3 separate regions of the Homo sapiens genome follow, and regions 1 and 3 are each linked to region 2. The links are contacts of gene promoters, found by promoter capture Hi-C in blood cells and fetal thymus (Javierre and others, 2016). All regions are on one chromosome and are shown on one strand. The core of a region is centred on a gene start or on the middle of the fragment in contact, and the rest is flanking DNA. Distances in the headings are between cores, read along the strand shown.

What was found. The method cuts DNA at HindIII sites, captures the fragments that hold promoters and counts their contacts. A CHiCAGO score of 5 or more calls a contact.
Region 1: a fragment that was not itself captured here is called in contact with the fragment with the promoter of LCMT1 in region 2 in 1 of 17 cell types (naive CD8 T cells); the score reaches 5.9 in naive CD8 T cells.
Region 3: a contact is called between the fragment with the promoter of IL21R here and the fragment with the promoter of LCMT1 in region 2, in 2 of 17 cell types (M0 macrophages and non-activated CD4 T cells). The highest score is 6.9, in M0 macrophages.

What each region holds. Positions count from the first base shown.
Region 1 is chr16:27,551,187-27,554,433 of GRCh38, forward strand. The region is part of intron 1 of KATNIP (katanin interacting protein); the gene reads left to right. Among named protein-coding and RNA genes, the nearest start is that of KATNIP, 2.7 kb to the left of the region's middle. The HindIII fragment of the contact is 4,528 bases long and covers 1-3,247 here.
Region 2 is chr16:25,110,265-25,113,610 of GRCh38, forward strand. It overlaps LCMT1 (leucine carboxyl methyltransferase 1), which reads left to right and starts at 1,478. Exons shown (of 11, transcript NM_016309.3): 1 at 1,478-1,732. The coding sequence starts at 1,620. It overlaps LCMT1-AS1 (LCMT1 antisense RNA 1), which reads right to left and starts at 1,291. Exons shown (of 3, transcript NR_120306.1): 1 at 1,132-1,291. RefSeq lists enhancers at 901-1,428, 1,206-1,535, 1,626-1,785. The HindIII fragment of the contact is 2,890 bases long and covers 1-2,295 here.
Region 3 is chr16:27,400,101-27,403,423 of GRCh38, forward strand. It overlaps IL21R (interleukin 21 receptor), which reads left to right and starts at 2,074. Exons shown (of 9, transcript NM_181078.3): 1 at 2,074-2,518. RefSeq lists enhancers at 2,151-2,693, 2,586-2,705. The HindIII fragment of the contact is 2,346 bases long and covers 1,278-3,323 here.

The sequences.
Region 1 (3,247 bases), core at 532-3,031, 2.4 Mb after region 2:
TCTAGAGAGACTGGTAGGGTCTGGGCTAGAGTCCAGATCATTTTTCTAATTACAGCACTGTCCCTCACTTCTCGGGAATTTGTTCCTGGGGAATCCACATTCTTTTTATATTCACTGAATGTAGTGTGGAGAAAATGTTTTTAATTGAACATTCTGTCATATGCTTAAAATATATCTTTTCCCTTTGTACTTTAGAGGTACTATAAAATGTGCTTTACCATTTTGCCTTCTGGAAAGGTCAATGTAATGTTGCTATAGAACATCAGTCCTCAAACCTTTTAAGCCTTGGGACCCCTGTATGCTCTTACCTCAAAGAGCTTTGTTTATTTATATTTATGATATTTACCATATCGAAGATTTAAACTGGGAAAATCTTAAGATGTCCATTAATTAGTTCCTTTAAAAATAATAAAAATTGGGCCGGGCATGGACTCGTGCCTGTAATCCTAGCACTCTGGAAGGCCAAGGCAGGTGGATCACTTGAGGTCAGGAGTTCGAGACCAGCCTGGCCAACATGGTGAAACCTTGTCTCTACTAAAACTTAGCCGGACGTGGTGACACATGTCTGTAATCCCAGCTACTTGGAAGGCTGAGGCAGGAGAATCATTTGAAGCCGAGATCTTGCCACTGCACTCCAGCCTGGGCAACAGGGCGAGACTCTGTCTCAAAAAAACCCAATAATAATAATAATAATTGGCCAGGTGCAGTGGCTCATAATAATCATAATAATAATTGGCCATGTGCAGTGCCTCACACCTGTGATCCCAGCAGTTTGGGAGGCTGAAGTGGGTGGATTGCTTGAGCTCAGGAGTTCAAGACCAGCCTGGGCAACATAGCTAGACCCTGTCTCAAAAAAACTCCAACAACAATAAACCCATTACTTCTGAACATAAATAATATTTTTAATGGAAAACAATTACATTTGCCTCCAAAAAATTAATAGGAAGAGTAGCATTATTTTATGTTTTTTCAAGTTTATTCAATAGAAATAGAAAAAACTACTCTCATTTCTGCTTCAGGATTCAAACTGTTTTTTGTTATGCTGTTTTGGCTGGTGTGTATGAAGAAAATTTGGCCTCATACAAATATATAATTGGAGCAGAGAGAAACATTTTAATTGCCTTTTCAGATAACTGTAGACACTCTCCTTTCATACTATACAAAATTTAGCAAATGCCAGTTTCTTTTTTCTTTTTTTTTTTTTTTTTGAGAAAAAGTCTCACTGTCGCCCAGGCTGGAGTGCAGTGGCACGATCTCAGCTCACTGCAACCTCTGCCTGCTGGGTTCAAGCGATTCTCCTGCCTCAACCTCCCGAGTAGCTGGGATCACAGGTGTGAACCACCATGCCCAGCTAATTTTTTTTATTTTTAGTAGACATGGGGTTTCCCCATGTTGGCCAGCTGGTCGCAAACTCCTGACCTCAGGTGATCAGCCTGCCTCCATTTCCCAAAGTGCTGGGATTACAGACGTGAGCCACCATGCCTGGCCTGCAAGTGGCAGTTTTTTTTTTTTTTTTTTTTTTTTGAGACGGGAGTTTTGCCGTCGTTGCCCAGGCTGGAGTGCAATGGCCTGATCTCGGCTCACCGCAACCTCCGCCTCCCGGGTTCAAGCGATTCTCCTGCCTCAGCCTCCCAAGTAGCTGGGATTACAGGCATGTGCCACCACGCTCAGCTAATTTTGTACTTTTAGTAGAGATGGGGTTTCTCTATGTTGGTCAGGCTGGTCTCAAACTGCCAACCTCAGGTGATCCGCCCGCCTTGGCCTCCCAAAGTGCTGGGATTACAGGCATGAAGAACCATGCCAGGCCACAAGTGGCAGTTTCTTAAATGTTAGTCACAGTGTGTCATCTGAAGCCTTATAGGTGAACTTTTATACTGTGTTACATTAAAATCCATTGGTCTATCTTGCCCTTTCATTGGCTGCTTTACCCATATATGGTTTTATAACATCAGCCATTGGTCGTTTAGAAAATGTTGGTTCAGTGAGTTATGCAAATCTAAACGTTGACCTTTCAGATGCCATTATACGGTATTTAAAAAATCACATTTGTTAATATCACCACCTATTTCATTTTAAAAAGGAGTTTAAGTATTAGGAAACTATCAAACTCAAGGTAATGGAAACAAGTTTTCAACTTGTTTTCACTTGACAGCTTGAATTTTAACATTGGCAGCAAATATTGTCAGCTGTTTCCTTGAAGTGACAGACTCACTTATTTCATATTTGAGAAAATTTCTGCCAAATTCCCAAGACTGAATAACCAAAATTTGTCTATTATTTTATTTACTGCCATGTACTCACATTTAAAACAAACAAACAATTATTTTTATTTAAGAATGTCCTGATGGTTGGGTTCAGTGGCTCACGCCTATAGTCCCACCGCTTTGGGAGGCCAAGACAAGAGGATCTCTTCAGCCCAGAAATTCAAGACCAGCTTCGTCAACATAGTGAGACTCCATCTCTACTAAATAAATAAATAAAATAAATAAATAAATAAATAATAGTCAGGCATGGTAGCATGCACCTGTGGTTCTAGCTGCTAAGGAGACTGAGGTGTGGGGATCACTTGAGCCCAGGAGGTCAAGACCAGCCTGGGCAACTTAGTGAGACCCCATCTCTGTAAAAAGTAAAAAATTAGACAGGTATAGTGGCTCGTGCCTGTAGTCCCAGCCACTCAGGATCAGTTGAGCTTAGGAGGTTGAGGCTACAGTGAGCCATGACTGTGCCACTGCACTCCAGCCTGGGCAAAAAGACCTTGTCTAGAGAGAGAGAGAGCAGGGGGTGGGGTGGGGGGAGAGAGGAGAGAGAAAGGAAGGAAGGAAAGAAGGGAGGGAGAGGAGAGAGAAAGGAAGGAGGAAAGAAGGGAGGGATGGAAGAAGGGAGGGAGGAAGGAAGGAGGGAAGGTTTCTAGTACATTGTGGTAACATTGCCTTGATTCAGACTGCAAGCAGTTTTACCCACCATTGCTTTGTGTCATAAGTACAAATGTCAACACAGCCAGATGGGGTGGCTCACGCCTGTAATCCCAGCACTTTGAGAGGCCAAGGTGGGCGATCACCTGAGGTCGGGAGTTTGAGACTAGCCTGGCCAACATGGTGAAACCCTGTCTCTACTAAAAATACAAAAATTAGCTGGGCATGGTGGCACATAACTGTGGTCCCAGCTACTTGGGGGAGGCTGAGGCAAGAGAATCGCTTGAACCCAGGAGGCAGAGGTTGCAGTGAGCCAAGATCATGCCACTGTATTG
Region 2 (3,346 bases), core at 228-2,727:
AACAACTGACAGATAACAAAATGGAATATACAAAGACATTTTTAATTTATAATGTATATTAAACATTATTATACATATACAACTTACAAGGGTTGCTTCTGGCTGGATTCTCTGCCAATCGCCCGAACACTGAGGATTCTGCTAGTTGTTCTGCCCTGAGTTAATTATAGCTATAAAATTTCATCACCAGCAAGAAACCAGGCGACTTCCCCAGTACATCTTGAATTTATACATATATTTTGTACTAGATTTAGTACAAAATAAATCCAAAACATCTTGAATATGCCTCATAATGAAACAGACACACGTGAACCCACTCCCACGTGAGAAACTGAGGATGTGTCTATGTGCTCCTTCCCTGCCTCTCCCTCCCCCTCTTGTGTGCTACCCTCCCGGCTCCCTAAAGATCACCAATATCCTGATTCTTTTTTATTTTTTTTTCTCATGTCTTGCCTTCTCTGTACAGTATTTTACCATATATGTACGTTTCTCTAAACAACATTAGTTTTACTTGGTTTGAACTTTACAAAAGTGTTGTTAGACTTCCTTCTTTCACTGAACATCGTGTTTCTGAGATTCAGCCATTGATGCTGCTACCTGGTAGCTCTAGTTCATTTATGATCGCTGCTACATGGCTTCCTATTGTATTACTTTTCCACACACTACTTCCCTCACTACATTTCTTTTCTTTCTTTCTTTTATTTATTTGTTTATTTATTTTTTTGAGACGGAGTCTCGCTCTGTCGCTCAGGACGGAATGCAGTGGCGCCACATGGGCTTACTGCAACCTCCGCCTCCCGGGTTCAAGCGATTCTCCTGCCTCAGCCTCCTGAGTAGCCAGGACTAAGGCGGCCGCCACCACGCCCGGCTAATTTTTGTACTTTTAGTAACAACGGTGTTTCACCATGTTGGCCAGGCTGGTCTCGAACTCCTGACCTCAGGTGATCGGCCCGCCTCGGCTTCCCACAGTGGTGGGATTACAGGAGTGAGCCACTACGCCCGCCCCCCTCACTACATTTCGAAGGCAATTTTGGGGGCAAAGCCCTCAGCACAGTCGCTGGCAGAGTCAGCACACAACAAAATTTTGTAAAATTGAATGACACTGAGCCCGGACTGAATGTAACAACTTACACATGTTGCTTCTGGCTGGATTCTCTGCCCTTTGCCCGAACGCTGAGGATTCTGCTAGCTGTTCCGCCCTGAGTTAATTATAGCTATAAAATTTCGCGACCAGCAAGCAGAAACCGGGCGACTTCTCCAGACACCTAAGACTACGCTTCCCAGAAAGGATTGCGATACTCTCCTACTGTTTAGTTTCTTTTTCCTATCGTCAAATTTCCGGGTTATGTGGGCGGTGCCAAAATAATTATCCAATGAGCAACTTCGTAGGCTGAGCGGGCAGGAGAATTGCTCAATGAGCGACTCGGAAGAGGAGCCAATAAGCGGAGAGGTTGCTGGGGTAGCCGGCGTGGGCGGCGTCACTGAGCCGCGCCAGCTGAGCCAGGTAGGGCCCTACCCTCTTCTGTTGCTTTCTCCCTGTGGCTCGCGCCGTCCCCCGCCGCCCGTCGACCCCGCTTCCATGTCCCTGGCGGACACAGCTCCCAGGAACCTCCACGCCCATGGCCACTAGGCAGAGGGAATCCTCTATCACCTCCTGCTGTTCCACCTCGAGCTGCGACGCAGACGACGAGGGCGTGCGCGGCACCTGCGAAGATGCTTCCCTGTGCAAGAGGTGCCTGTCGGGCGCGGGGTTCGGGGCCGGCATCTGGGGCGCGGGCCTAGGTGGGAGGTGGGCCTGCATCTGAAGAATACGCTCAAGGCTGGCAGGGATGCAGCCCCCGCCTCGCACGACCCTCGCTTCCCACCTGTGAAGTGCACGGAGCAGGGCTTCATTTATTTAACGAATCGTTTCTGAGCTTTTGCTGTGAGCCAGGCAGGGGGCCAGCCTGGGTATCGTCGATGGGAGCAGGCCCCTGAGCCAGACAGACGAGGCCTTGGGCTTCTTGGAGCTAAACGCTGCTGGAAAGACAGACATGAAGCAAATAGTAGCTCCAGCCTCGATGGGTTACGAGGATGAGAGGTGTAGGTTCTCTCTCTTTTGTAGGTTGCATTCTTTAGGGGGTTGGTGTGATCCCTGTTGTGCACCTGAAACTCAGGATGACGAGGGGAAATAACCCACCCAGAGCCAAGTAATATCTCTTTGCAGAGCCAGTACCGCACTAAGTCTCCACTGTTAAGGGTGTGGTGGTGGGGATGGGGGCGTAGCCAGCAGAGGTACGTGTCAGAGAAAGAGAAAGCTTGAGGCTTGAATGTCCACCATTTATTCTTTCATTCAACAAAATTTTTTGAGACCTTACTTTGTGCCAGGCCTTTACTTTGCAGTGGTTAGTAGGAATTCGATGGTGGAAATACACCAAGAACAAGACAGACATGGTGTCAGACATACTGGAACTCACAGCTTTGTTGGAAAAGAGAGACAGGAAGCAAATAATTACCTATGAAATATATAATTATGATTTTTTTGTGTTGAGTGCTGACAAATACGGCAGTGCCATTAGAGTTTGTAATTTTGTCAGTGATGTTTAAGGTGAGAAGAGTTTGGGCGCGGTGGTTCACGCCTGTAATCCCAGCACTTTGGGAGGCCGAGGTGGGCAGATCACGAGGTCAGGAGTTCGAGACCATCCTGGCCAACATGGTGAAACCCCATCTCTACTAAAAATACAAATATTAGCTGGGTGTGGTGGCGGGCGCCTGTAATCCCAGCTACTCGGGAGGCTGAGGCCGGAGAATCATTTGAACCCGGGAGGCAGAGGTTGCAGTGAGCCAAGATCACGCTATTGCACTCCAACCTGGATGAGAGTGCGAGACTATGTCTCAAAAAAAAAAAAAAAAAAAAGTGAGAAGAAAAGGCTTGAAAAATAGGAAAGTTGTAGGAGAGTGTTCAGAGGAGTGTGAACTGTTAGAGGAACTCAAAAAATGCTTTAAAGGTGGGAGAAGGAGGCTGAGGCCACGTAGTGATTGTAGAGTGGGGAAAACCAGTGTGTTGGATTAAACCTTGCACTTTTTATAGGTTCTTGGGGACTAAACTTTCAGAGCATGGATTCTGGAGCTAGACTCTGTCAAACTGAGCGTTGCCACTTACTGGCAGTATAAAGTCGGGGAAATTACTAAACTTTTCTGTGGCTCAGTTTCCTGATCTGTAAAATGGGGAGTATAATAACGCATCATAGGTGGGTGTGGACAAAAATGATATTTAATATTAGTAGAGCACTTGGAGCAGTGTCTGGCATGTAGTCCATGTAAGTGGTGATTGATTAAATTAATAAATACACAAGTATTAAAGTCT
Region 3 (3,323 bases), core at 824-3,323, 2.3 Mb after region 2:
GTGTAGTGAGTTAAGAGTGCGGGCTCTGGAGCCCAAATGACTGAGTTCAAATCCCAACTCTGGCACTCATCAGCTGTGTGACCTTGGACAAGTCACTTAACCTCTCTGAGCCTCAGTTTCCTCATCTGTAAAACAGGGACGATGATGATGATGATGATAACTATCTTCTAGACTCATTCTTTTTCATTTTGGGGATTTTATTTTTGAAGACAGAGTCTTGCTCTGTTGCCCAGGCTTGAGTGCAGCACTACAGTCATAGCTCACTGCAGCCTTCAGCTCCTTGGCTCAAGTGGTCCTCCCACCTCAGCCTCCAGAGTAGCTGGGACTACAGGCGTGCACCACCATGACTGTCTAATTTTTAAATTTTTTTATAGAGACAGGGTCTTGCTATGTTGCCCAGACTGGTCTTGAACTCCTAGCCTCAATCGATCCTCCCACCTCAGCCTCCCAAAATGATGGAATTATAGGTGTGCACCGCTGCACACAGCCTTCTCGAGTATTTCTGAGGTTTAAATGAGAGGGTGCATCTTTAAAGTCCTTAAAACCCTGGCACACAATGAGCTTTCAGCAAATATTAGCTCTTTTTACTGTCTCTTCTCCTGATCTTTCAACCACTACAAATTTCAGTGCATGTTATCAGAGAATTCACCCCGAAGATCAAGAGAAAGAAAAACAAAAGCTGGTGTCTTCCCAAGGTTCGTTCTCCAGAGAACACGACACACTTCGGTAGCTGGGAAGAGCTCTACAGGGCCAGGATCCCTCAAATCAACCACAGGGGAATTTGTACCAAGTTCCTCAAAAACAGCTAGAAAAAAAAAGAAAGAAAGAATAGCAAGACGCTTTCTCTTTTTTCTCTGGAGTGGTCACGAAAGTCAACAGCAAGTTGATTCCCAAAAATGAGTCAGCAGGGAGAGCTACAAATTGCATCTTGTTATCAAAACAGCATAAAATAGCCTCCCCCAACTGTGGGACATTTCATCCTGGTATGGCCCCGTTTTCACAGCCTGGTATAAGCTTAGGAATCAAACACACCCAGGTTCAAATCCCAGCTCTAATTCTTCTTGGCTTGTGTGACGTTTCACTCCTCTGGGCCTCAGTCTCTCCATCTGTAAAATGGGACTAATCTTGTCTGCCTCACACTTTGTGGGATAAAGTGAGATCATGTAGGCACCAAAGTAATTCGAGGTGGTGGTGATGGCAGTGGTAGTGGTGGTGGTGGTAGCGGTGGTGGTGGTAGCAATTCTCTTGCTCTCCTTTGGAGACTGCACTAGGCATTAAGCTTGTTACATTTTGTCTCCTGGTTTCTTGAATGTCTTCCAGAAACATCTGACCCTCTCATGGGCCTCTGGCATGTTAGCAAGATGAAAACTCTCTTGAGAATTTCTTTTCTCTATTTTCTTCTTGAATTCTCATGTGTTAATGTCTGCCCTCTTCCTCATAGCTAGGTGCCCCCATTTGACAGATGGGCAAAGTGAGGCATTCAGAGAGGTGATGTGACGTGCCCAAGGGGTCCTGCTCCCTGGAGCTCTGCAGCAGGAGACTGGATCCAAAGGAAATGGAGGCAGAGAGGCATGGGGGTCAAGCCAGAGCAGAGGGTCCCAAGCTCAGACCCTATTAGGCAGGTAAGGCTCAGGAATAAGAAACAGGCTGGTTTGCAAAGTCTGAAAAAGGGGCTTCCGTGGGACCTTGGGCAAGGTTCTGGTCCTTCTCTCTGTGCTGAGGGGCTGGAGTCGGCCACTGAGGACTCTGGGTCCACGGGTGAAACTGTGCCACATCTTCACACCTCTGGCCTCAGTTTCCATATCTGTGCAATGTGGTGGCTCCAGGAGGCACTGCCTGCCTCATGGGTTATGACTGAGAGGCCTGTGGGGATGATGTCACAGGTCCCTAAGAGGGAAGTGTCACCCCGATGGCCCCAAATGTCTTACTTGCAGGTGACCTTTGGTGACAGTGGGTGCCTGCTGTGGGGCCAGGCCCCCTCCCACCTCTTTCTCACTCCCTCCCAGGAGGAGCCCAGCTGCGGGTGGGCGGGGCTGGCGGGGAGCGGCTCACCACATCCTCCTCTTCCTCCCCACTCTGCACATGCGGCTGGGTGGCAGCCAGCGGCCTCAGACAGACCCACTGGCGTCTCTCTGCTGAGTGACCGTAAGCTCGGCGTCTGGCCCTCTGCCTGCCTCTCCCTGAGTGTGGCTGACAGCCACGCAGCTGTGTCTGTCTGTCTGCGGCCCGTGCATCCCTGCTGCGGCCGCCTGGTACCTTCCTTGCCGTCTCTTTCCTCTGTCTGCTGCTCTGTGGGACACCTGCCTGGAGGCCCAGCTGCCCGTCATCAGAGTGACAGGTCTTATGACAGCCTGATTGGTGACTCGGGCTGGGTGTGGATTCTCACCCCAGGCCTCTGCCTGCTTTCTCAGACCCTCATCTGTCACCCCCACGCTGAACCCAGCTGCCACCCCCAGAAGCCCATCAGACTGCCCCCAGCACACGGAATGGATTTCTGAGAAAGAAGCCGAAACAGAAGGTAATTCCAGCCCTGGTTTTCTGCTGGGACCAGGGTGCCTTCTCTGCCCAGGAGGGACTGTTCCCTGCCTGCTGCATCTAGTGTCACAGTGGGAGGGCTCGGAGGACTGTGCCCAAGTCACAATTGGGGACACTGAGGCAAAGAAGATTCATGCAGTGAGGCTGGGCAGAAATGAGGTTGGGGTCTCTTGTTCAGCACAGCTTAGGGGCCCAGCAGCAGGGATGTGGCTGAGACGACCCTCTATCTTGAAAACCAGCCTCCAAAATGTAGCGGGCTGGGGAAGGAAAGCCAGTTTCAAGCCAAACATAACATGTCAATCACCCGATTCTGGGCGGCTGAGTCGGGAGGTGACGGGCATGGGTGTAGAGCCTGATGGGACCCATTCTGTGTCAGTTTCTATGTCTTACCACCTTGATTCCACCCAGTCATTCAAAACAATGGCTGGTGTGCCCATTTCGCAGATGAGGCAATGAGGCTGCGAGAGGTAGAGTGATTTTCCCTCGGTGACTCAACTGGGACGTAGCAGGTCGGGCAGTCAAGCCAGGTGACCCCATGAGCTGTCGCTGCATCTTTCTCATGAAGCACGGGGAACGGGTCGGATGGTAAGAGGCCAACCCAGTTCCCTGTGCATGTGGAGGAGAGGAGGGTGGGGAGGTCAGTGGAGGCTGAGCCTTGAAGGATGGGAAAGGAAGAACATTCCTGGTGGAGGAGCCCTGGGGAGCGGGAACTTAGGACTTGCCGCAGGAATGACGTCTCTGCTCAGTGAAGGCAGAAGACCAGGTGCGGGACATTCAAAGCCAGGAGG